7 separate regions of the Homo sapiens genome follow, and regions 1, 3, 4, 5, 6 and 7 are each linked to region 2. Evidence: promoter capture Hi-C in 16 types of primary human blood cells and fetal thymus (Javierre and others, 2016). All regions are on one chromosome and are shown on one strand. The core of a region is centred on a gene start or on the middle of the fragment in contact, and the rest is flanking DNA. Distances in the headings are between cores, read along the strand shown. Region 1 holds the start of LOC101928398 (a long non-coding RNA gene). Region 2 holds the start of PSMG1 (proteasome assembly chaperone 1). Region 3 holds the start of LINC00114 (long intergenic non-protein coding RNA 114). Region 4 has its middle 86 kb from the start of LINC00114. Region 5 overlaps LINC00114 (long intergenic non-protein coding RNA 114). Region 6 overlaps ETS2 (ETS proto-oncogene 2, transcription factor). Region 7 has its middle 61 kb from the start of LINC00114.

What was found. The method cuts DNA at HindIII sites, captures the fragments that hold promoters and counts their contacts. A CHiCAGO score of 5 or more calls a contact.
Region 1: a contact is called between a fragment that was not itself captured here and the fragment with the promoter of PSMG1 in region 2, in 1 of 17 cell types (total B cells). The highest score is 6.2, in total B cells.
Region 3: a contact is called between a fragment that was not itself captured here and the fragment with the promoter of PSMG1 in region 2, in 9 of 17 cell types (total CD8 T cells, total CD4 T cells, naive CD8 T cells and 6 more). The highest score is 14.3, in total CD8 T cells.
Region 4: a fragment that was not itself captured here is called in contact with the fragment with the promoter of PSMG1 in region 2 in 1 of 17 cell types (M0 macrophages); the score reaches 6.0 in M0 macrophages.
Region 5: a fragment that was not itself captured here is called in contact with the fragment with the promoter of PSMG1 in region 2 in 9 of 17 cell types (naive CD8 T cells, total CD8 T cells, non-activated CD4 T cells and 6 more); the score reaches 15.3 in naive CD8 T cells.
Region 6: a fragment that was not itself captured here is called in contact with the fragment with the promoter of PSMG1 in region 2 in 5 of 17 cell types (total CD8 T cells, neutrophils, activated CD4 T cells and 2 more); the score reaches 9.7 in total CD8 T cells.
Region 7: a contact is called between a fragment that was not itself captured here and the fragment with the promoter of PSMG1 in region 2, in 2 of 17 cell types (M0 macrophages and total CD4 T cells). The highest score is 5.6, in M0 macrophages.

What each region holds. Positions count from the first base shown.
Region 1 is chr21:38,855,938-38,859,267 of GRCh38, reverse strand. LOC101928398 (a long non-coding RNA gene) reads right to left here and starts at 1,729. Exons shown (of 3, transcript NR_109926.1): 1 at 1,643-1,729; 2 at 1,313-1,492; 3 at 406-1,191. The HindIII fragment of the contact is 9,082 bases long and covers 1-3,330 here.
Region 2 is chr21:39,182,016-39,185,830 of GRCh38, reverse strand. It overlaps PSMG1 (proteasome assembly chaperone 1), which reads left to right and starts at 2,380. Exons shown (of 7, transcript NM_003720.4): 1 at 2,380-2,579. The coding sequence starts at 2,446. BRWD1 (bromodomain and WD repeat domain containing 1) reads left to right here. Exons shown (of 41, transcript NM_033656.4): 41 at 1-349. RefSeq lists silencers at 2,205-2,424, 2,625-2,704. The HindIII fragment of the contact is 4,125 bases long and covers 568-3,815 here.
Region 3 is chr21:38,770,951-38,774,820 of GRCh38, reverse strand. It overlaps LINC00114 (long intergenic non-protein coding RNA 114), which reads left to right and starts at 1,344. Exons shown (of 7, transcript NR_027065.2): 1 at 1,344-1,372. The HindIII fragment of the contact is 4,008 bases long and covers 231-3,870 here.
Region 4 is chr21:38,685,248-38,689,046 of GRCh38, reverse strand. No RefSeq gene overlaps it. Among named protein-coding and RNA genes, the nearest start is that of LINC00114, 86 kb to the left of the region's middle. The HindIII fragment of the contact is 2,641 bases long and covers 415-3,055 here.
Region 5 is chr21:38,750,923-38,754,750 of GRCh38, reverse strand. All of the region lies in intron 1 of LINC00114 (long intergenic non-protein coding RNA 114), which reads left to right. Among named protein-coding and RNA genes, the nearest start is that of LINC00114, 21 kb to the left of the region's middle. The HindIII fragment of the contact is 4,817 bases long and covers 1-3,828 here.
Region 6 is chr21:38,820,477-38,823,836 of GRCh38, reverse strand. ETS2 (ETS proto-oncogene 2, transcription factor) reads right to left here. Exons shown (of 10, transcript NM_005239.6): 9 at 2,133-2,251; 10 at 1-1,163. The coding sequence ends at 948. Among named protein-coding and RNA genes, the nearest start is that of ETS2, 16 kb to the right of the region's middle. RefSeq lists an enhancer at 899-1,436. The HindIII fragment of the contact is 3,317 bases long and covers 1-3,079 here.
Region 7 is chr21:38,710,819-38,714,642 of GRCh38, reverse strand. No RefSeq gene overlaps it. Among named protein-coding and RNA genes, the nearest start is that of LINC00114, 61 kb to the left of the region's middle. The HindIII fragment of the contact is 610 bases long and covers 1,891-2,500 here.

The sequences.
Region 1 (3,330 bases), core at 304-2,803, 330 kb after region 2:
GGTGATCACACTGCACTGGATGTCACATCTGTGCACAGGGCTCTGCACACTCCCCACAACCCCACTTTACTTTGCTTCCCCTGGACCCAGAGGCAGAGTTCTCCTGGTCTTATCCTACCTGTACCTTCTACCTGCAATATTCTGCCCCTGACCCTCCTAGGGTCCTCCTTCTTACTTTTAGATCTCAGGTTAAATGTTGCCTCCTGGGTGCTCTCCCATAGCCCCTGTTCTCCCATCACTGGATTGGAAATGTCTGCAGAGCACATATTCCCATCACTTGCTTGTCTTTTATTACCTGACCTTGCCCATCACTAAAATGTAAGTTCTAGTGGTCTGCAGGCCTCATCGGGTTGGCATTTTTCATCTCTGTATCCCAAGCCCCTAGAACAGTGCAGAAGACATGATAGACACTCCATGGATATTTATTAAATAAATGGATGTGAGTGAATGCAATAAAACAAGCACTTTCAGTCAAATAAACCCAAGAGTGCTGGTCATTCTCCAAATTTGTTTTCTGCCTGCTCTGTGCCATGGAGGCCAACTCCTCTGGCTTGCACTTCGCAGGCCCTCTTTCAGGCAGCTGCCTGTGCACCTGCAGTCAATGAGAGGATGGGAGCAAAAAGTGGGGGCAGTTTTCCCTGGTCCCTTGACAGGGCCTCACTGGGCTCAGATGACATCACTTCCTCTCTCCTCCCTTGAAACCTGGGGGTGGGAAACCTTGGCATCTGGGAGGCTTCCCATCATTTGTCTGAGCTCTCATCCCTGCCCACAGCTCAGGAAACTTCCTTTGTCAAAGTCTCTTCATCTGCACCATTTAGCATGAACTGTTCCTTGTGGGGGCAATGCTCCTTCTGCGTGCATACAATTTAGATATCTTTTCTGTATATACAGAATGTATGCACATAACTTTAAAAAAATTTACTTAATTTTTAAGGGGGTGGTTTCTTCATTTTCTGCTTTCCTCTTTAGCTCTGCTTCCAAGTTCCCCTCATCACTGCGGTCCCTAGTGAAATCTTCCAACTGCATGGTGTCCAGCACATTTTCAGCCAGAGATTTTAGTTGGCTCGTGGTATCTTTCATGACCTGTTTTTTTTGTGCATTCAAAGGTTTCCAGCCTTTCTTTCTCCTCCTTCCTTTCCTGTACTCTCTGCTCCCATCTCGCGATCTCTTGGTCGAGCACTTCCGGACTTTCTGCAAAATAGGTGTTTTCATTCAAACTGTGTTATTTCCTTCTGAAGTTTTCCTCCATCCTCCTTTCATCCTTTTAAGATGTGTCCTGCATCAATCACTTGGGAACGCTTAGGAGACTCACTTTTCCATGTTTTTTTTTCCAGAAAGCCTCCTGTGTCCTGCAGAGAAGACCTGCTCAGATTTTTATTAAGGGTCGATAAGCAGAGGGATTGTAACATTCAAGGTCTGGCCTCCATCAGGGGTGACTTGAGGGCTTCCTCAGCCTGTCTCTTTAGTCCAGTGTTCCACCTTCTCCATGGACCTGCTGGTGAGAACAACACTTTTACTAAGCTCTTTTCCTCTTTATAAAGTGTCATCTCTTAATGACTAAGACCACCACAGCAACACAAACCAGGACCTCCCAGGGATGCCCAGGGACCCCCGGGGCTCATCTCATGATCTCAGCCATCACCAGCACAGCAGCCCGCAGCAGCTTCAGAGCGGCTGGAGAGACATTTGGGGACGAGCAGCCCCTCTGTGGCTCTGCCTCTGTTTGCCAGTGGCCTGTGGACCACAACTGCCTACTCGGGACCCTGCGGAGTGTTCTGTATCTAATGCAAACAGGTGCCTGGCAACCAGGACAGATAATCAGTTGGGCTGGGGGAGGGGAGCAAGCCAGATTCTAAAAACAGTGTCCCTGACATTGCTGTGCTTACTGCACAGATAGAGGTGATATTATATTCCCTGCCCAGGTCATGAGGGAACTGGGAGTGGCTGACAGCACTCTGGAGCTCAGCCACACCAGGCCCAGCTGGCCCCACAGCAAACCCAGAGGGTCGAAGTGAGGCTACGCCCTGTCCCTTTCTGTCCACAAGGGCCTGTCAGGGCACAGTGGTGGGGCCTGTCCCTGGGTGAGGCTCAGTCTCCTGATTTCAAGTTTCCTTCTGCACAGGGAAAGTGGGTCCTGCCCACCAAGGTCCGAGGGACCCTCCTCTGAAGCCCCTCTCTCCTTTGTGTTTGGTCAAGGTTAGCAGATGGGGAGAGGACTGAAGAGTCTCCCCAAAGGTCTAAACTGAGAGACCTGGATTTTCAATGTAACAATCCAGGAGAAATAAGTAGATGGAGTCTAAAATTTCTGGTGGAGTCTACAATTTCATGGATTTTCTATGAAGCTGGTTTGTCCCTGTTCAGCAAGTGTCCTGAGTGAGGGTGACTCTGCTTTGGGTATGACAGGTTGACCCAAGCTCCTTCCCTCATGCCTCCCAAGGTGGCCCTGGGAACAGTCTCCAATCCACTGAGCCGTCTTCAGAAGTGCATGTCTACTACAAGGGGATGGGGCCTTCTTTCGGCTCATATTTGCCACCTTTTGCTTATTAAGCTACTTCTCTCTCCTAGAATCCCTCTGGCAGACCGAGACTCACAGCCTCTTGTTCATCCTCTGGGACTTTGCCATGAGCAACTCGCTCATGGTCCCTTTACCCAGAATGAAATTAGAGAACTGTCCGCCAAGGCCAGCCCTGGGGTCTTGAGAGATTGCCTAGCTCAGGCAGTAGGGGCCCCATGGATGTAGAGGACCAAGGCTCCGACTGGCCAGGTGGTGAGGGCCGGGGTGGAGGTCTAGGTCAGCCAACGCCTGAAGCGATAGTTGTGATAATTTCCTTCTTTCCTTCCTTCCTTCTCTCTCTCTTTCTTTCTTTCTCTCTTTTTTTTGAGACAGAGTCTTGTTCTGTTGCCCAGGCTGGAGTGGAGTGGCATTATCATATCTCATTGGAGCCTCAAATGCCTGGGCTCAAGCAATCCCCCTACTTCAGCCTCCCCAATAGCTGGGACCACAGGCATGCACCACCATGCCAAGCTATTTTTTTTTTTTCCTAGAGATAGGATCTCGCCATGTTGCCAAGGCTAGTCTGAAACTCCTGGCCTCAAGCAATCCTCCTGCCTTGGCCTCCCAAAGCGTTGGGATTACAGGCATGAGGCACTGCACGTGGCCTCTTTTTTTAAAAACAAAACAAAACTGGGCTTTATTTTTTAGAGCAGTGATAGGTTTAAAGAAAAATTGTGCAGAGATATTACATAGACCCTTGACTCCTCCCACAGTGTCCCCTATTATTATCAGCATTTTGCATTGTTGCAGTACGTTTGCTAAAATGGATGAAAGTA
Region 2 (3,815 bases), core at 1,131-3,630:
AGTTGTTTTCCCATTTAAAAATATCTGAATATATGATTTGCATGTGTAAATCTGAAAAACTAAACTACAGAAACCTAGGGTTTTCTATTTCTTTTTTAAGTCAAATGCATTTTTTTTTTTTTGTTATACAGATGAACCAAGTGTCTAAAATACTTGAGAAATTTGTGGTTGCATGTCTGTTTTAAAAAAAAGGCTTTTTGTTTTTTAGCATAAGCCAGAATATTCTAACCTACTAAGTCTGTGTCCTTTGCTCCTTTTGTAGTATACTTTCATCTAAATTACTGATCCCCAATATGTTGATACACAGGTGAGAAAGGGAAGAATTCCTAATAAACTGCTATTACTTTTAGGTGCATGGGGTTTGATTTTTGAGCTCTAATGAAATGCTTAAACTTCTTTCCAGTTCAAATTTTACACTTAATTTATAATATTTATTGAGTATATTATGTCCTCAACAAGTAACTATAAAATGAAATACTTAACTCGGTGAAGACTATTTTATGCAAAGTTTTTTTTTTTTTTTTTTTTTTTTTTTAGCAATTTCAGTGTAATGAAAGAATTTAAGCTTTGAATTTATAATTTGCTGTGGTGGGGTTAATTTCTGTCAGTATTTGAGATTGTATTATCAGTCTTGCATAATGAAATCCTTTTTTGGCTAAGTATTTAATTCGAACATATTTGCCTTTTTAAAAAGTGCTTGGCCTAAACTTATTGTAACTGCATGAAATAAGCATTTGCTTAAAACTTAACATTGTAAAATTGTTCTCTCTGAAATGTGTGCAGAATTTAAATCATGGCCAAATGTATTACTATTACCCTATTTACAGTAATTTGCTTTGCAGAAAATATTTCTTCATCATGGAACTGTGAAATCAAATTGAAGATCTTACTGGTAAAAATGACAAATTAACAAAAGGACTAAGACAAGTGGTGCCCAAACAACCTTTTTATTCTGCAGTTCCATCATCATAATAGACCAGTTAACCCAGGAGTCCTAATGTTTTAAAACATCATTGTGGTGATCTTGTTTATTCTATCTCACTAAGGATATCCAGTTTCCTAAGCTCTTACTGGCTAGCAATTTCGTCTTAATTTTATTGCTAAATGTTCAAATTTTGCTTCCAAACTCACTTTATTTTTGCAGATGTGTACATCTGCTAAGTACTAATTTTATGTAAATGATTTTGTTGATTATCTTTCCACATCTTAAAATGTTTCTAACAGCTTTGAGATTTTATCTCAACAGGCTCTCTCTGACCCCAAAGTAGTACTTACCTTCGTGACTACTGACAAAGTCACAAAATGCAGGCGATGTCATGTATTTCGGTACAACTAAATCTAGGAAACGGTTTTTTCATTGCATTACTGCATATTTTCATTTTCATTTAAATTATGTCCCCTTTTTCTCTTGCTTGAAACAGTGCTCCTCGAACTTTGTCTTCCAGCACATTTTAAAGAGAACCAATTAAAGAACAATCACACATTCTGCTTATTAAAGGCTATTTAAAAAGAAACATTTTGTATTAGAAAATGGCCAACTTTAAAACACTATTTTTTACACTCATAAAAATGTTTTTTAAATCGCCTTGACAATCATCAGCTTTTGAAATGTGAATTCCTATTGCCAGAGTAAAGGTCTCGTTTTTATACCACCACGAAGCGCTGTATTTCTTGCTGCCCTTGCGTCCGCCCGTGCCCGCTGTCTGAGGGCGCGCCTGGCTACGGGGGCCCTCAGTACCACCGCGCCGCCACCTACCTGGGCAGTCGAAATTTGGAGCGGGTGCTCAGTACACTAATGCTACCCCAGTCTCTCCTAACGCAGAAGGAAAATGGAAACGGACGATGAGGGGACGGCCCCACAGCTCCCGGACGCCACGGCCAGCGGCGCTGGCTCCGCCCCTGCACCCCTGGTTCCGCTACCGCCACGAACGGAGGCCCCGCCCTCCTCTCGCCCCCTGCCCCTCTAGCCCGCAGTCCTCCCACCTCCTGGCGCCCGCAGGGCTCAAGCTGCGAATGAAAGCCTTTGGGGGCCGGACGCGGTGGCTGAGGCCTGTAATCCAAGCACTTTGGGAGGTCTAAGGAGGACGATCGCTAGAGTCCTGGAGTTCGAGACCAGTCTGGGCAACATAGCGAGACCCCCTCCCCCAATCTGTAATTTAAAAACAAAAAAGCTGCGGGGACTGCTGGCCCAGGGCATGACAGCGCGGGCGGGCGGTGTAGAGGGCGTGGCCGCGAGCTCAGGGTGTGCCTGGGAGCGAGCCCTGTGCGGGGCGGGACGTAGCGCCCGCGCGGTGGGGGTGTGGCCGCGAGCTTGGGCTGTGCGCGGAGGGCGTGGCCTGTGCGGGGCGGGACTTATTGCCCGCGCGGTGAGGGAGCGTGGTCTCGCGCAAGCCGGCGTGCGGTCCCGCGGCGCTGCAGTTGTGTCCAGCCGGTCACGGGGCGGCTATGGCGGCCACGTTCTTCGGAGAGGTGGTGAAGGCGCCGTGCCGAGCTGGGACTGAGGACGAAGAGGAGGAGGAGGAGGGGCGGAGGGAGACGCCCGAGGACAGGGAGGTGCGTCTGCAGCTGGCGCGGAAGAGGTGAGGCACCGGGATAAGGGCAGCGCGCTCACCGCAGCTGGAAGGTGCGCGGGCCTGGCAGCCGCGACGGCGCCTAAGGCCGGGGCTCCGCGGTCTTCCGAGTGGCCCCCGCGGTTGCCGCCGCTCCTTGGCTCTGCTTGGGCCCTGGGTCTCCGTGAAGCCGCGGCGTCCAGCGGCGCCAGCCCCAGGTGTGTGTGGTTCTCGCGTGGATCTGCTGGCGTTTCGTGGAGTCCAGGGTGAAGCCGCTGTGGGAGGGCTGGGTTCAAATCCGTTCTTTAAAGGCTTTCTGGAGCGTTTCTGGAGCATTTCTGGAGGCTTGGTGTCTTGCGGACTCGTGATCTTCCCGCTTGTCACACTGTCTTGGGCCGCAGCGCTCCCGCGGGCCCCACCACGTTTGTCGTGGATTGTTCACGGACACACCAATTCCCTCGAAACTTTTTAAACCTGCACCCAACACTTCAATTAGCATGATGTGTCAGTAGCCGATGAACACGCTTTAAAAAAATTGTTTCCAAACACAAAAAAGTGGGAGAAAATAGTCAAGTGAGCCCTGACCCCTACACAACCGGGTAAATTCAACAGGAAGATTTTGCCACGTTTATTTTCTCTCCCGCCACTCCTAAGCGAATTCCAGTCATCATGGCCTTTCACCTCTACATTTTTCAGAATACATCTCAAACGTTTTAGGGATTTTCTTACATATGCTATTATCACCCCTAACAACACTAATACTAATTTTCCAGTATCATTTTGTAGTCCATGCTCACTCACGTTTACCTAGTTTTTTCAAACATGACATTTTACAGTGGTCTGCGTGAATGAGAATCCTAACAGGGTCCACAGGTTACATTTAGACGTGTCACTTCATTTAGAGCAACCTCCTCTTACCCCTCCTAAGAGACAGGACTGATTGTCTTGTCCAGTGCCCCCACACTCTGAATTTGTCTGATAGCTTCGTTGTGGTGTCACTTAACGTTTGTATCACCTGCATGTCCTGTAAAATGAATGTTCATTTGGAGGCTTGGTCAGATTCTCATTCAAAGTTTTGTCGGCAAGAATGCTTCTACTAAGTGGTGCTTTCTGTTTCTTATTGCAGGCTATCCCCAGCTGTCTCACTTTTAGGGATGCTAAGATTGGTTCTTGGGTCAGGTGGACAGCCTGATCACTATTTTAGAGTTCTCCGTAAACACGTATGCAATAGTTTTATCTGTTGGTTATCATTGTCCGAGTCCATCG
Region 3 (3,870 bases), core at 985-3,484, 410 kb after region 2:
GATGTCAGAAAGGCGGCCATGCCCTCGGGGTGAAGGGTACTAGCCATCCTCCCCCTGCCTGTACCACAGAGCCTAGGATGGGGCCTGGGATGGAGCCTGGGATGCTCTGGCTGGGGCCTGGGGCGGGGAGTGGCCTGCCAGCCTGTGTTATCTTCTAGCATTGGCACCCCCAATTTAGTCCGAGGAACCCTCCAAAGCAGCTACAGTTTCCTTCCCTTCCTGGGAAAGCTTGGCCCAAAGGCCAGGAAGGTCTTTGCCTCGGCTTCTCAGAAGGAAGGGAAGACCTGCTTTGGGCATATGGGGTAGAATTTTCTACCATGTAAAGGGTGGTATGGTCAAAATGTGAACTTGCCTTATGTCACTAATTCCTGCGAAACTTTAAATTCTTCATTGCATCCCTCACATTCAACGAGGGAATTTGTCAAAATGCTTTCTGGCAAAGTGCCTGACACAAACAATGTGAATTTCTCTGTGTAGAAATGACCCTTTCTGCCTGGTGCTAGCTTTCCTGATAAGCTCACTGGGAATGTTCCTCCTGCCGAAATGCAGATTTGTTGATCATCTTTTGGATTTCAGATCCTTGCTCTGGGAGAACGAGATGCAGGCCCGTTCCTACTGAGGACCATTGTCCCATAGCCCACTCTTGCTCCAGAGTCCTGCTGGCTTCTAGTTTCTTCTCCCATGGACCCCCAAATTCCGGGGACTTATTTCCTAATGCCTCCCACTTAGTATTCCCTGAAATAATATTCTGAGGAGTTCTGAATAGGGGAGTCTTCAAATAAATCAGCAAGTGCCGTGAGAATGCATGAGTAAGGGAAGGCGTCATGACCCAGGCCTCTCGAGCAACACTAGGGAGGCAAGCGGACGCCATCCTGCATGTGTGCAGCTCACACCTGCCACCCACGGCACAACACACCTTTCCACAGGGAAACACAGTGTTCTCTCTTCCACCCCTCATTGTCATAGCCCAGTGAAGATTCACCTATTGGGAAAGAAATGAAAACCAACATGTCTTTGAACTTAATTGTTTTCTTAACATTTGGGGCTGGGACATCTGTCTTTGCTTAAAAACACATCTATTTATATCAACAACCGTTTACATTGAGTCCTTGGAGACTGACTTAAGCAGATGTTGCCTGATGTGGGTTTTCGTACTTAGAAAAAATGTGGAATTCATTTCTACCCCACTCCCTCCTCAATAAAGTTAAATTGCAGAAATTTGCAAACCTTAGATTTCAGTGTACACAAAATACATCCTCCTAGCTTTTCATAACATGTGACTCATGTTATTGTGATGAAGGGACTAATGAATCATTTTCGTACTACGAGGGCTGGAAGACGGCAGTCCTGAGGGAGCCGACTTGCTTAGAAGGTTGGTAATGCGATTACTCATTCAATGGAGACCAGTGTAAAAGCTGAGTGTTGTACATACAGCTATGTTTATACAACCACTGCCTTGGCTTGGAGGAAGGGGCAAGGGCAAATTGGAAGTGGGTGGGAAAGACTGGAGGTGGCTTTCTGAGGCAAAGCGATGCCCAGGAATCAGACATGGGCGTGAACCAGAGGAGGAGAGACTGAGGGTGAAACCACGCTCCATCTGCATCTCGAAGTCACTTAGGCAATGACATTCATGCAGAAGGCAGACTCTGGCCACGTGGTGAGAAGAGCTCTGCTGGATTCAGGAGGAAAGCCTTCCTGCTCTCAGGGGCCCCAGGCAGGTCTGCACCACCTTTGAGGGAAGTTCCATTTCTGTCTGTTTGATTCTTCTTCTTCTTCTTGCCTTCTCTTCTTATTATCTTCCTTCTCTCTTCATCCCATTCCTCAGTGGCACACAGGCACTTTAATCCTATCTGACAGATGTTTATCCTGTGTTTGTGCCCAAAGAGAGTTCACATTGATGCAATATAATTTGTGAAACCATTTCTTCCTTATTCTGTGAAATGACACATGTAAGTTTGTATATACATAGACCTCTGTCTTCAAAGAGTAATTTTTACTGAAAAGTGAATTTACTTAAAATGGGGAACATGATTTCACAGAACCAACAAGGGCAGTGTGACAGCTGAAACTTTGTCTTGAAAAATAAAACTTAAAGTAAGAAAAGAAGTAATTTGGGATTATAATTATTATTTTGAGACAGAGTCTCACTGTGTTGCCCAGGCTGGAGTGCAGTGGCACGATCTTGGCTCACTGCAACCTCTGCTTCCTGGGTTCAAGCGATTCTCCTGCCTTAGCCTCCCAAGTAGCTGGGAATACAGGTGTGTGCCACCACACCAGGCTAATTTTTGTATTTTTAGTAGAGACCAGGCTTCTCCATGTTGCCCAGGCTGGTCTCGAACTCCTGACCTCAAGTGATCTGCCTGCCTCAGCCTCCCAAAGTGCTGGGATTACAGGAATGAGCCATAGCACCCAGCCAATTTGGGATTTTATTAATGAATTTTAGATTATTACAGTAACATCAGCTTTCACTGCACACTGAACAATCATGGTAGTTCCTCCATCACTTTCTTTAACTTCAGGGAACCTTATATCATAGGCAAGATTTGGAGTTTCATGTTGTCATCAGTTTGCACTGTATTTGCAGTGTTTTCAATTTTCATTTGTTACTAAGACTGGCATAGACATTGACCCAATAGACTACCATTAAGGCTGATGGTAGATGTGAAGGGGGTTTGAGTGTCAACTATTTCTCTACATGGTCAGTTCATTAGGGGATATTTAAAAATTATGGTTACTTTGACTTTGCTATCCACTGCTATCATAATGTTCTCATTTCAGTACAAATGCTCAGATAAAAAAGACACTCTCTCCCTTTGACACCTACTGGTGTTTATTATGAGTAAGATGTTTTGTCTCCATTAATTAATTTAAACCTTACAATGATTCAATAATTTAAGTATGACTGTCTAGTTTTATGGATGCAGGGAATTAGAAGCTCAGAGAGGTGGTGTAACATGTCTGGAGTCACAGAGTGAATAATGGAGGAGCTGAGATGTATAATCAGGTGTGTCTGATTCCAAAGTCTGTGGCTCCAGACAGTGAAGATACAATAAATACCTAACTCTTCAAGGCCCAGACACCAAAGAATATCTACAAGATCAACACTACCCAGGAAAACATGACCTCACTAAATGAATTAAATAAGGCATCAGTGACCAATCCTGGAGAAAGAGATATGTGACCTTTGAGACAGAGAATTCAAAATAGCTGTGTTGAGAAAACTCAAAGCAATTCAAGATAACACAGAAGGAATTCAGAATCCTATCAGATAAATTTAACCAAAGTCTGTGGCTCTAGCCTCTCTACACATTTCATCCAAGTCAACTGGGCTGGGTGGCCAAACACCTAAAGGTCACATCTGTCCATGGACAGCAATCAGCTCTTGATTTTCTGAGCCTCCCAAATTCTGACCTTGACTGCAAGGACCCCCTTTCAATTCAATTGACAATTAAGGCCAATGAGTGAGACCTGGTGAAGACCACACCTGAAATGAGACATAATTTCAATTCTATCCACTGCTAATTCTCTATCACTGTCACAGTACATCTTAATCTGCCCATTGAAGCATCCGAAACATAACCCTACAGGGAAAAATTTGCTAAAAATAATAGAGACCCTACCCTGGAAACGACTGTCTCTATTGGTCATTTGTCTTATGCCGCTGGATTTGAATGGGTCAATATCTGCTCTGACAGACGGCACTACAAGCACATCATGGCAACAACAGTTTTCAAATGAACTCCCTGACAATATTTCACTGGATCTGTGTGATCAACCAATGGATAACGTATTCTGTAGCACAGCACTGAGGACAGCTTGTGTTTGCTTTTATGTGTCCTGTGAGAGGCCGTTGGGAAAATTTCAAATCCT
Region 4 (3,799 bases), core at 486-2,985, 500 kb after region 2:
TTTTGGGCTTCATTTTCCTCCTACAACCCAGTTTTTCTGAATAATAGTACTTATAAGCCTACAGTGTGATACACAATTTGGCATTTTAATCTCATGGTTATTTAGTTCTCTGAAAGCTGAATAAAATTGAATTATTTTCTGATTTAGAAAAAGTATTTTTCTTTTTTTTTTCAATAGTGATACCTGATTTGACAGTCTTCCTTGCGACTGTCAGAGAGTACAGAGTTCACATTTGGCATGAGCATGCTTCATCCAGAGGAAAGAACTTTCCAGATGGTTTGCAAGGCTGAAGGGCAATATTTGGGAGACCAGGAAAAATTCTGAGCATATAATTGATTGGAAATGCCTGTTCAGTTCTTTTCACAAAATCCTCTTTTCCTTCTACCTTTGTCCTCTCCTGTGTTATCTGAAGCTTCTCTTCATGGGGCCTAGACCCCTACATCTTTTGGAGGTAATTTCAAGCAGTCTTTTGTGCTGGGGCACAGTATTCCTAAGACAGTTAGTTCATTAGATAGAATCATGAAACTGCCATGTTTGTAGGTTAAAAATGGTTAAATAGCAGCCATTTCATATGGCTCAACCTAAACATTGGTTCCTGTAATTGTATTCATCCATTCATCAAGTATTTGTTCAACACATATCATATGCTGAATACTGTGCGGGGCTGTGAGGACACAACAGGGAACACAAAACAGCCGTTGCCCTCCAGGAGTCTAACAGGGAGCAGCTGTACAAACGCAATTACATTGGAGTGTGCAAAAATAGCGCTGCGATATGGCATGACAGCTCATGGTGGGGCCACTTAAGCCAACAGTGGGGGATGGTTAGGGGAAACCCTGGCAGAGTGAGTGGGAGTTGGCCAACTGAAATGGGGGACAAGAGTTGTAAGAATAACACTCCAACCTGGAATGTTCCAACACCTGGGAAGGTAGAAAGAATCAGAACCTACTTGGCTATGGTAGAAACAGAGAGCAAAGATGGGGGCATTGGGGGACTCTAGAACTGGGAAGATGAGCGGGGCTTCCACACCAAGCTATGTTTTTGGAAATTACTCTCAGGGCAACAGGGAGGAGGGTTTTAAACCTAAGAGTGGTTAATGGTTAATGCCACTCCATGTATAATTTGAGGGATGAAAAAAGGGGCAAGGGGGAGGACCACCATGATGAAGCCTTGGGTTTACTCTTCCTTTGTTCTGCAGATGGTTTGTTTGTTCTACAGGAAGGGGGTTGCTGATATGGTGTGGCTGTGTCCCCACCCAAATCTCATCTTGGATTGTAGCTCCCATAATCCCCATGTGTCATGGGAGGGACCCGGTGGGAGGTAATTGAATCATGGAGGCAGGTTTTCCTGTGCTGTTCTCATGATAGTGAAGAAGTCTCATGAGATCTGATGGTTTTATAAAGAGCAGTTCCCCAGCACACACTCTCTTGCCTGCTGCCATGTAAGACATGACTTTGCTCCTACTTCACCTTCCACCATGATTGTGAGGCCTCCCCAGCCATGTGGAATTGTGAGTCCATTAAACCTCTTTCCTTTATAAATTACCCAGTCCTGGATACGTCCTTATAGCAGTGTGAGAACGGACTAACACAGTTGCTTTCTTCATTTTTGGTATGAAAACAGAAACAAAATTGGAGAAAATCTGATTATGTTCACCAGACAATTCAAGAAGAGAGTCGTTTTAGGGCCATGGCAGGTGAAAAAGGCAGAATGGACCCAGCACTTCAAGTGGACTAGCCCATTGCCTGTGCAGAGGCTGAAACTCTAGACCAGCCAGGGTGGCAGGAGGAAGGACCTCAGATGAGCAGTGCTGCCTCTTAGAGAAGTCATTGTCTTGGGCTTGGAAGGCACACAAAAGTACTGAGACACAGGCCAGCACCCACAGGGCAGAGTCCTTTTTAACTACTTAAAGGAGCCATAGGAGCACATACTTTTACGAGAAATGCAAATGGGAAACAACTATATATAGATGCAGCACACACCTTATTTTGGAAAGTTATTCCAATCTTTTGGAGGCAAAAGAGACCAGAACATAGGCAGAGAGCCCTGTTTAAACACAGCCTCAGCATTGCTTTCATTTATAATTTAATATTTAAATCCAAATCTCTAAAGCACATAAATTTATCTAATCTTGCACAGTGTTTTGGCTATGACCCCAGCCCCCTGTTATTTTTCCAAGCTGGTCTAAATTTTCCAGGTTGTTGGAAATGCTGGTGATTCTGTGGCCTTCAAGAACATCTTACATTAAAGCCAGTCACACTGAGTTACGGTTTTTCCATCAACTAAACCTTTTACCAAATTGCCCATGGCTGAAACTATTTTCTGATAGATAAATATTTTCAAAGTTCCACTGTCAAGCCCAGTTTAGAAATGTCAAATTTGTCATGACTCTACCCACCAGTGTCTTTTCCTCTACTTTTGCCACTTTTCATTTTCAGAGCAAGAAATCTGGGGAGGAAAAGTGGAGATCCACCGATTAAAATGATATTAAAGGAGAAAGAAACAATGACCTCTTTGATAATTTACAATTATCCAAAAAATAAATACCCTTTTTTTTTCAAGGGACAGGGTCTCTCCCCTTGTTGCCTAGGCTGGACTGCAGTGGTGCAATCATAGTTCACTGCAGCCTCAAACTCCTGGGCTCAAATGATCCTCCCGCCTCAGCCTCCCAAGTAGTAAGGACTACAGACACACACCACAATGCCTGGCTAATTTTAAAATATTCTGTAGAGATGAGGTCTTGCTATGTTGGTCTCACACTCCTGGCCTCAAGCGATCCTCCTGCCTCAGCCTCTGAAAGTTCTGGGATTACAAGTGTGAGTCGTAGTACCTGGCCTCGGAGAATAAATATCTTGATACTTTTTCATTTTACAATCATCCTCACTTTTCTGTTCAAATCCAGCTCAGGTACTTGTGGCTGTTATGACATGCCATGAACAACACACAGAAGCAAGAGGTATTGTTTAAATTCTGCAGATAAGGGAGGAGTACTCTGAAGAGTTTGAGGATATTACTTTTCTGAAAATTGAAAGATATTCATCTGTTTGGAAAAGCTTAAAGAAGGAACGGGAAAAGGGAGCTGCTACAGGCCAGATTATGTCAAAACCAAGGTAGCTGGGGACAGTGGCAAACGTGTGTAATCCTAACTACTCAGGAGGCTGAGGTGGGAGGATCACTTGAAGCCAGGAATTTGAGACCAACCTGGGCAATGTAGTGAGACCCCATCTCTAAAAAGAATGTGAAGTTGTGCACAAATGAAAACCAACTTGTTCTTATGGTGGGAAGTGCCACATTCTATTTTCTTCTGTCTTTCCATTTTATTTGTCTGACTTCTCCCTGAGCATGGTGGCTCCTTGCTCACCACTGTTATCCCTGCCTCTGGGAGCACACCTGGCCTTCGGTCACTCCAGTGGATAAGTATTAAGTCAAGGAACAATCGCGTGAATGAATGAATAGTGAAAGTGATCCAGGAGGGTGCTTTTGTCACATATCTGTTATGGACTTGGGGAGCCACACCCCAAGTTCTCATCCTAGGCAGTTTAGTACTCTGGTAGCAATAATGTTGAATACTATTAAGTTTTTTGGTTAGTCTAAGGAAGTCAGGAGTGAGCATGGGGGCTGCATTCAACAGCCAAAGTTCACGTTTCTCCAAAATTCTTATGCTGAAGCCCTAACCCTTAGCGTGGTGGTACTTGGAGATGGGGCCTCTAAGGAAGTTATTAAGGTTATTTATTTATTTATTTATTTATTTATTTATTTTGAGATGGAGTCTCATTCTGTCCCCCAGGCTGGAGTGCAG
Region 5 (3,828 bases), core at 1,068-3,567, 430 kb after region 2:
TTAAAGCAGCTTAAGGGAAGAGGGTGCCTACAGTGGAGTTGGGGGTGGAGACATCCCCTCCTCAAGAAAGTTGAGAATGACCCTGCACTCCACAGAGCTTCTCAAGGCACAAGTGGTGCAGGAAGAACATTTTATAAAAGTGAACATTCATTCATGATATTTTCGACCTCCACAAGTCCTAGATGGCGGGAGGGAGGCATCTATGGGGAAATTACTTTGTTAATGAAAGGCAATAAAGAAAGTCATCACCAATGACTTTTTTTTAAGAGACAGCATCTCGCTCTGTCACCCAGGATGGAGTGCAATCCTATGATCATAGCTCACTGCAGCCTTGAACTCCTGGAATCAAGGGATCCTCCCGCCTCAGCCTCCTGAGTAGGCAGGACCACAGGTATGTGCCACCACCCCTGGCTAACTTTTAAATATTTTTGTAGAGATAGGGTCTTACTTTGTTGCCCCCTAGGCTGGTCTCCGATTCTTGGCCTCAAGTGATCCTCCTGCCTCTGAAAGTGATTGGATTATAGCGTGAGCCACTGCACTGGGCAGAGCTTCTTTCTCTTGAATGAACCAGGACCATATTCATAGTTTGAAAAGATTGTGATATGCATTTAATAAAAAAGGGGCAGTTTATGGAATAATATTATCAAAATGCTTTTAGAGTATAGAAGGATCTCAAAAACATGGTCTTGGACGTCGTTTAATGATTACTGATTTTGGAGATGACATGTTCTGAAAAGTTCTAAATGTAAGACTTTATAAAAAACCTACTTAACAAAATGTCAACACTTGAAATCTTTGATTCCCTTGCCCAAGGAACTCTGACGGTTTCCCATGATAATGATTATACGGGTGACACCCAACTTGGCAATTTGCTCATAGCAGCCTAGAAGAGGAACTGCCTGCCAGTGAAATATTATCAAAGAAATGGATACATGTTAATTTTGTTTAAGAACGATTGAGTAGGGATCATCTTGGCTTTCAGCTAGAGATTTCTCCCAGCCAGAATTTTCTCCAATTACATAATAAATAATGGAGGCCTCATACTTTAGATTATTTCCACATTCATTTTACAAGCTATAGCTTGTCTTCTAAACGTAAAGCACATTCAGTTATAAACTGAAGCCCAGGGAACAGAATGTTCCCTGGACTTGGAAACACTATGTACTTTGCCTTCTTCTTCTTTTTTAATATTTTAGAGCTTGTTTAAACAAATTTAGCCCTGTCTTTAATTAATCCTAAAGACAAGAAAATGATAAACTATGCATTGCATTAAAGAGATAGAGAGAGAGAGAGAGAGAAACTTCACATTTTTAGCAAAATCAACTTGGCTTTTTCTTTTGAAGTTTTCCGAAATTGTCCATTGTGTGCCAGAGAGGCACAGGCACAGATTGGTCATGCAGTCCCTATTTCCAGAAAAGGCAACGTGAGCTGTCTGCCTGGTTGTGGGCCACCTGGCCTGTCCTCTGCACTGTCCATTCATTTCCTCTGCTCTCCCTCACTGCCCTCACTGCAGCCCCTCTGCCAATGACACCTGGCCATCTGCTTTTTCGAAAACAAAGGAAATGCATTTCTCCCACAGATACAAACAGCAGAATTGCCTTGGGAATTAGTGGCCCACTGTAGGTTGAGTATTGGGTGTGGTTTTCCATTTTGCCTCCCCATGGGGGCCTCCGAGAAAGCGTACCCACCCCTGGCGGGCGGTGGGTTCTAGTCCAGGGCTGATTTCTAGTCAGCTGTGTCCTGGGGAATCAGGTGGGACGCTGGGATGACAGCAGGAATGCAGAGGAGACCATCCTGGGAGGAAAGGGTGTCGCCACGTGTAGAGCGCTTCTCCCTGCAGGCCCTTGTGTGCACAGGGTCTGTCTGCTTCTCTCATGGGACCGTCACAAGGACATGGATTTGTGTGCCATCCCCACTTTAGATAGGAGGCCACCAAGGCTCCTGGGGGGAAAAGTGGCTTCATGAGTGGTAAGGGAGGAACAGGATCCTGCGGAGACTATACCTGAGAGATATCTGGAACCTGCACTCCTAGCCACTAATACCCCAGGTCGCTTATGTGTGTGATGTAAGTGGTGCTGGATGGAGACCTCTCTCCTCTCCCATCCCACCGGCCATGAGAAAGGCCCATCCCAGTGCCCAGCCGCAGAAGGTGTGGAATATGCAAGTTTCTGCTCTCCCTGCCTTCCCCTAAACATCACTCCTTTTGCTCACTGGGGTCTGAAGTGGCCCCACACAAGGACAGCTTTTCCCTTCAGAAAGGAGAGGAGGCAAAAATGCAAACAACTTGGCAACCAGGTTGTTCATATCCAACGTCGTGGCTTTCATCCCAAGAATCGTTCTCAAAGATGAGAACTGGATGGAGAGGCGCTATTCCGCTAAGGTGGAGGAACAGGGCTCGGAACAGAGAGAAACCACACAGCCCAAGGGCAGTGTCATCTCCTGCCACGCACAGCCTTCCTCCATCCAATCCATGCAGACTGACGCCTACCCTGAGCTCAGCCAGACCCCGGGAGGGAAGCTGCCCTTCAAAGTGCTCATGTCCAGGTGGGAACTGGAGCAACACAGCCCTCTCTGCAGAGCTTATGTGGGCTGAGGGGAGATTCTCGGGTGGATGCCTCCCTGTTTACATGAGGCAAAATATTAACCCTGGCTGTCAGGAGCAATGGGAGGGAGAAGAGAGAAGCCGGTGGCTTTGACTTGCGACTGTGGCAGGTGAAAATTCACCCCATCTAGCTTGCCAGGCCATGGGTGTGGACCAGGTCAGGTCTCCATCAGGGCCTCATAGATACTCCGTGCAGTTTTCTTGGACTTTTCGCCTCCAGAGCTGTGAGGAAATCGGTGTCTGTGGTTGAAGGCCCCCGTCCGTGGTGTTTGTTTTGGCCGCCCCAGGGAACTCACACATTGTTCCTCATTTAGCTGCGGCCACACTGGCTTCTCTGCTGTTCCTCAGATATCCTGGCTCACGTCTGTCTCAAGGCCCTGGCCCTGGCTGTTCCCTCTGCCTGGAGTGCTCTCCCCAGCCCGCTCCTTGCTAACGGCCTTGCTTGCTTCAGCTCTTGAGTCTGTTCCCACGCTGCTGTAAGGAACTACCTGAGACTGGGTAATTTGTGGAGAAAAGGGATTTCATTGACTCGCAGTTCTGCAGGCTGTACGGGAAGCATGACTGGGAGGCGTCAGGAAACTTACAACCATGGCGGAAGGAGAAGGGGAAGCAAGGGCCTTCTTCACACGGTGGCAGGAGAGAGAGGGAGCAACGAGAGAAGCGCCACACGCACTCTTTTTTTTTTTTTTGACAGAGTCTCGCTCTGTTGCGAGGCTGGAGCGCAGTGGCGCGATCTCAGCTCACTGCAATCTCCGCCTCCCCGGTTCAAGCGAGTCTCCTGCTTCAGCCTCCCGAGTAGCTGGGATTACAGGTGCACGCCAACACACCCAGCTATATTTGTATTTTTAGTAGAGACGGGGTTTCACCATGTTGGCCAGGATGGTCTCCATCTCCTGACATCGTGATCCACCTGCCTCGGCCTCCCAAAGTGCTGGGATTATAGGTGTGAGCCACCACGCCCGGCCGGGAAGCGCAACACACTCTTAAAGCATCAGATCTCATGAGAACTCACTCACTATCACAAGAACAGCCGGGGGAAATCTGCCCCCATGATCCAATCTCCTCCCACCAGGCCCCTCTTCCAGTTCCACATGAGATTTGGGCAGGGACACAAATCCAAGCTGTCACTCATATACCCCGCGTCAGTGATGCCTTCCCGTGTCCCAATCCGTTTCTCCAGCTCACTTCTTTCCTCAGCTCTCATCACCCTGAGCACGTTACATCTC
Region 6 (3,360 bases), core at 172-2,671, 360 kb after region 2:
TTAAACGCATGCAAAGAAGTGGAAAACATATGCCATTTGTCAAGAAAAATACTGCTTTATAGCTTTTACTTTACAATTAAAGGAGAAAGCAGAGGCCAGATATAAGCCCAGATAATAACATTTAAGTTTCTCATAAAAACTCCCAAATGTACAAAGTCCTTGCCAGACAACCAAGGCAAGAAAACCCCCCAAAAACAAACAAACAAACAAACAAAAAAACACAAAAAGCAGGGATTACCCCCCACAGGCCTTATCCCTGTAAGTCTATTAAATGTAAATAATACATACTTTACAACTTCTCTTAGTCGGCCCTTGGCAGATTAAATCTTTGCAAAATTCCATATGTGCTATTGAAAAATGAAATAAAACCTCAGATGTCTGAATTCTTATTTCAAATACAGTTATATAATTATTTTAAATTACAATATACAATTTCTGTTAAATACAACTGTTAAGGGATTCTGAGAACAATTATAAGATTATAATAATATATACAAACTAACTTCTGAAATGACATGGTTGTTTCCTTCCCACCCTCCTACCCTCTCAAAGAGTTTTTGCATTTGCTGTTCCTGGTTGCAAAAGGCAAAAGAAAATCTAAAAATAGTCTGTGTGTGTCCACGACATGCTCGCTCCTTTGAGAATCTCAAACAGCCAGAACCATCCCGTCCCACGGACTGCCAGGCGCCAGGACGGCTTCCTGGTGCCTCTTTCTCGACCATTTTCACTTAAAAGCACTGTGAGTAGAATTAGCTGTGCCGTTGCTGCCACAAGGGAGGCAGCCTGGTCAAGAGGCGTGGTTTGGGATGCAATAAGGCCACTGCTTCTTGGCCACTTTCCTGGACATTTTCAATCCTGCCTTTCCTGGGTCCTCGGAGCAGCTGGTCAGGATGGGCTTCCCACTCAGTCCACGAGCCTGGGGCCGGCTCAGGGTGGTCCCGGCGACCTCAGTCCTCCGTGTCGGGCTGGACGCCCAGGATGGCGTGCAGTTCCTCGGGCGTGAACCCCAGCAAGTTCTGGAGGTCGCACACGAAGCGGTACACGTAGCGCTTCCCCGACGTCTTGTGGATGATGTTCTTGTCGTAATAGTAGCGTAAGCCCCGGCTCAGCTTCTCGTAGTTCATCTTGGGCTTATTTTTCCTCTTTCCCCACCGGCGGGCCACCTTTGGTGAACATGGATGGAAAAGAGTTAAACTCAATTTGTCAATGAAGAAAAAGTGAATGACATTCCTCCCTGATTATGATTCTGAGGCATGTTCACTCTAGAGAGAACTTGACACCTACACAAGGTCCGCAGGAGGACCTTTTGAGTACCTCTGAGTACCTTTGAGTACCTATGGTAGGGGCACTGTGTCCCCAAGGGGCAGAACCACTGGGGAATGAGGTCCCTGCTCCCTGGCCCCAGCTCAGTGAAACCTCCTGGGAGCCAAGGGTTCAGAGCCAGGAGGGTCCTGAGACCAGGGAAAGGTGGTGTCACCCACCCTCCAGGCTGGATATTCCAACTACTGAAGTTAACAGGTGCCGAGTGGGATTCTGAGCTGTGTGATATACTCATTCCTCAATGCTTGTCTCCCAAGGGAACTGGAGGCGGGGTGGGAATGGTGACAGATTACGCTCCCCAGTGCCAGAGACCAAGGGCTTCTCTCTAACGCTTTTCTGGCGGGGTTGGTATCCCACCTGCCCTTGGCCTTCTCCTTTAGACAGGGCTCCTGGTTCTAACTCTGCAGGGCTGGGGTCAACACTGCTGGGCTCAGCTAAGGAGTGGACAGAAGGCTGGCTCGGGGCCACATGAGGCTTGTTCCCCCGATGGACAAGGGCAGCCTTCCTAAGGCATTTTCAGATGGTCAGCAGAGAACCTCAGTTTGCAGCTTGGGCCTCTTGATCAGACAACTGATCAAGACAGTGAAATCTGTGCAACGCCCTTGTATGAAGCATACCCAGAAAACACTGTACACGTTTATCAACAAAGCAATGACTCCACTTCCATTTTCCCAACAGCCAAGGATGCCTCACGTGGAAAGATTCTCAGCAGTACTGGTGAACCCTTTTTTGTGCCCAAAGAACTGAGTTTTTGAATGCAAGCAGGAAATCAGGTTTTCAAGCCCAGAGATTTCCCAGGGCTCTGGCCATACCTCATCGGGGTCGGCGAGCTTAAACTCCCATCCGTCTCCAGTCCAGCTGATGAATGACTGGCAGGATTTGTCTGATAGCAGCTCCAGGAGAAACTGCCACAGCTGAATAGGTCCACTTCCTGCGGGGAGAGGGAGGGAGACGGATCATACCCTTTCACAGATGTAAAATACAGCAAGTCTTTAACCATCCTAATTGTACATGCTGATTTAGGAATGCAGACCCAACTCTCTGAATGGGGTTCCGATGTTACACTCAGGGTGGCACTCAAGGTGTTGGTGACAGTACTAAGTGCTTTAACGGGATGGGGCGGGGCACCAAATGTGAGTTCCTGCTCCACACTGCCTACTCCTAGAAAATAAGGTCACTAGGCGAGACACTCTTCCCCTTGATTGCTAGGTTTGTTCTTTCTGGAAGAAAGTTTAGGGCCACCAACTCTTGGCATTAAAATTCCCCATCTGGTTTAATTGTTCCTTATGTAAAAACCTTCAAGGTTTTTTTCTAGAAACACCCAGTGGGGCAGAGATGGGGGTGGCTGAGGGGGTGTTTCATCACAGAATGAGGCGTGTCATACGTGGGATCCCATGCCACCTTCCTGCCAAATGACCATGTGTAAATTGCTTAATGTGAGCCCGGTTTACTCAATAGCCACGCGGGGTCACACCCGTTGCCTCACAGCCTCTGTCTGGTGAAGCATGCTTTGCCAAGAGCTTCTCGTCCACCTGTCCTCGATTGACATTTAGAACTACCACCTTGCAAAGCAGGTGTCAGTGTGGTTCTGTTCTAAAGAGGAGGGATAAGATGCGGCTCAGAGGCCAGGTGCCTTGTCCTGGATCACACGCCCATCACAGCAAACAGGAGAAGAGCCTAGATCTTCCGACCCTAAGCCCAACCTCTTTCTACCAAATAGCTCTTCCTCAGAAACGCAATGGCCGTTATCAATAAAGCTTTGCTGTAAAGCACGGGACAGGCATTCTAGAACCAGAGCTGTGTGAGCACCGATAGCTGTCTGCCTGTGAGCCAATTTCCCCATCTGTAAAATGGCCTCATACCACCCCCATGCCAGGCTGTCCTACAGACTGTATGCCTACTTAACTACAGAGTTGGCAGTCAATAAACAGAAACTTATGTTACTATTAAAATGAACCACACTAACGTTATGGCTGTTTATTCTTCTCAGGCCCTAAACTCCCAATAATGAAACCGATAATGGCTTTCACACACTCTTTC
Region 7 (3,824 bases), core at 946-3,445, 470 kb after region 2:
CTCATTGCATCATTTATAATATGCATTGCAAACTCATGAGATATAGTCATGGGAGGAGAGTTGTTCCTCCCTCTGAAATGCATTAGTTAGATCAGCTGTAAATCAACTCAGTATTTCTTGGGCTTAATTTCTGTATAGACTTTCCACCCCCTTTGAGAATAATGCTATGCTTGGTTATTTGGCATTTTCTGGTTTCCTTACTACTTGATTGGCCTCTTTAGGTCACCCATTGTGTTTTTTAATCTTAATTTTTGGTGAGAAGTTTAGCCAATTGCTTCCAAGAACTACCTTCTTTAAAATAAAGAATAAAAATAGAAACAAAAACAAAAACCAGAAACAGCTTTCTGTTCTAGTCTCTTCTACATAACCCTGAGGATGCCGGGGAGGGCAGTGGGAGAGTGTGAACTTGTCGGAACATATGCTTTTGGTTGACTGTGTGAATGTGCATGGAACACTTACAAGTGATGACTGGAAGTCAAAGTTTCTATAAACTTTTTCCCACTGCCCCTGCCTACACATGGCAAACACCACCATGGGTGGAAAGAATTTTGCATTGACAGCTGGCAGACAGAGATCTTGGGCTCTGGGCTATAACTCGGGCAGCAGTGGGAGGGGAGCACAATTGGCAAAGGGGGAGGATATTTTAGTTCAATCTTATTTTCTTTCTGTTTTATTATCTTTGTGTTAGTAGAATATTGAACACGTGAATGCACCATAGTATCGTTTTGTATTTACTCATTTCAAGGCCAATTCTAGTCCAATGCAGGGAGACAGAACACAGCCAAATTACATTGTTTAATGTAACATACCAATTAAAACTTGGGGGAGAGGCTCGGGGATCTCAGCCTCTTTGGGTTTGGGGGTTTTAGTCTCTAAAATTAGAAAGTTGCTCAGGGAATCACTAAAGTCATTTTCAGCTTTAGCCCTTTAGAATTCTGGAATGGGTCCCTGTTTGTATGATTCTCAGTATCTTCTGCCTTGGATGATGGCAGTGAGTGAATCAGCAAGAGCATGTCCAACAAATAGTCTCAAGGTGGCTCCTGGAGAGACAATGGAAACGGAACAACACCGTGCATAACTAGCACAGTGGCAGAGGGTGGACACTCCCACCTGTGTTCAATTGTTGCACATCAATCTGCATCTTTTTTGGTCACCCCTGAGAAGTAAATCACTGGTGGGTTTGAAATATAGATACTTTATCATGATAAATCCTCTTCCACATCTATAATTCATAAATATTGAAGAAGTGGGTGAAGGAATAAAGAATTTGGAAAGTGTAATGCTTTTATGAAGCAGACTTTGTTGAGTTTATTTAAAGATTATGCATATTTTGTTGGGTTTTTGTGCTGTTAAACTCTTCAGGGAAGAAAGTTTGAACGGTTAATTAAGAAATACCTGTCAGAATTCTATGGTACAATGGAGGAACCATTCAGAAATCAAGAGTGGTTCTTCTAGATGAGTTAAAATTGCAGGGACCAGGGAGTCGGTCATGTGTCTGGATTTTGGAACTTCTTTAAGGAGCCATGAGATATGAATGCGCCCCCCCCCCGCCCCCCCCTCCCCCCACCAAATAACTCAGAGTATGGATTACCGAAGACAAGGCCAAGGGCAGTCTCTACAGATACAAATTATTTGTCCTTGGAGGAGATGGGGGAAAGTAAACTGACCCACTAAAACTAGGGGCTTCTATAGCAAGGAGAAGGTACTTCATATCCCTGAACAGATGTGCTGCTGAGGGCGGGTGGCTGTGCCCTCCCAGCCCCAGGAGCTTTATCTCCGCCTTTAGAGCTTTTGTCTGGGAGAGATATGAAGGGAGTTCAAAGGACCCTAGAAAGGACAGCCTCATATTAGGAAACAGGGCTGACAACTAGGCAGGACAGGGGACAAGCTTAGTCAGTACCTAGGGGTTTGCATTCATTTTACTGCTTGCAGTAAAACAATTTGAAAGCAGATGATACATTCAATGTATCAATACATAGGCTTCTTGGTGGTGATGCTGTATATATTTGCAGCAGACACCATCAGCTGCCCATCCAATGTACATGTCGTCCCCTTTCTATCTAACAAAACCCTCATATGGTTTGTGGCCTCAACATGCCTAGTTAAAGAAAAATAACTCACCCAGGCAACTCTGCTGTTTCCAAAAGCCATACGACATAACAGGGCATTCAAAAGAAGCTGTAAATCGCAGGAAAGGGAGGCCCTCCAGAATAAAAAGGAATTGCTTTTCTGCCTTTGTTCTAGTTATCTTTTTCTTTCTCTTTCCTGCTGGATGGTGAGCCTGAGGACTGTGGTGCAGCAGCACCTTGTGACCTTAAGGCAAAAGCACAGACAAGCACCTCTTGCTAAGGATGAAAAGCTGGAAACAGCCAGATGGCACCAGAGAGTCTGTCCTGCCTGAGCTGAGTTCACCCTGTGTCTATAAGCCACTGTTGGCTTTCCTGTTCCTTGCAGCCAGAGGCAATCCAAATTGATTCAATGTGCTTCTGTCAAGAAAGCTTAAGGTTGAATTTCTAAAAGCAGCATTATTGAAAGAAACTTATCTATCTTCTCTAAGACAGATTTTGCAAACTCAAGTGTTTTTAATGTCATGACATGTAACGCCAGGGTTTAGTAAACCTTTTCTGCAAAGGGCCAGATAATAAATGTTTTTGGCTTTGTAAGCCAAACACAGTCTGTAGCAACTGCACAACTCTGGTGTTGTAGTATGAAACGGCCACAGACAATACATTCATTAATATATTCTTCTTTGTGTTTTGGGAGATATGCCACACCTTTTCTCACTCTCCAAAGCATTGCAGGACGGTTGAATGCTAACTCAAAGCTGAAACACTTTTGACATTTTATTTGAGAAAAAAATAGAAATATTTCCCCTTTTGATCTTTACTTTTAAAGCCCCTTCAATTATTTTCTAACAATATTCTTTTAAAAATGTGGTCCCATCTTTCCGATTAGAGTAATATACAGGCATTGCAGGAAAAAATGGAAAAATCTATTTATTCTACTACACAGAAATTCACTTACTGACACACAAGACATACACATTAAAACAACAGAAGCTCAAATCCATTGAAATGAATATCTCACTAGACTCCACCAGCTTTGGGGCTGGTTTAGTGGTTGTTATAGGAGTTTCGCAGGAGCAGCTGATATAAAAACAGACAGAAATACAGGGATACTGGAGGACACTTTTGTGATGCCCTTCTTCACCTTCCTCTGAGATTGGACTGCTTATCAGAGCTGTTTTCTGGAGGAAGTACTCAGAATACAATGCAGGTTGATTACTTCTGCCACAGCATAATGTCTAGCAGGCATAGCAAAGTCAACCCATTTTCTTACCAAAGAAGGGATCTCTTGATATAATTATTACTACATCTTTTAATTTACTTTTATTCTGATGTTTTCAAAGAAATGCATGCTCATTATACAGAATTTAGAAACATACAAATACCAAGTAGTAAAAAAATAATAATGATATTTTCTCTCTATTCCTGAGCCAACTCATTATACATTGGCATATTTCCTTCCACTTTTATTTCTGGACATTTTCCCCCCTATACATTGTTGATTTTTTTTATTTTTTTTCCTGAAAAATCGTATTTCAAACATTTTCCTGCTATTTAGATCTCTCGATAATCATGTTTGAAGAAGGATATAGAACCCCATCAGAGTGACCCCTTCCCTCATGTTGGACATTTAGGCCTTTGATATTTTATTGCTATAAATAGCTGGCCAGGCACGGTGTCGCATGCCTGTAATCCCAGCACTATAGGAGGCCGAGGCGGGTGGATCACCTGAGGTCAGGAGTTCAAGACCAGCCTGGC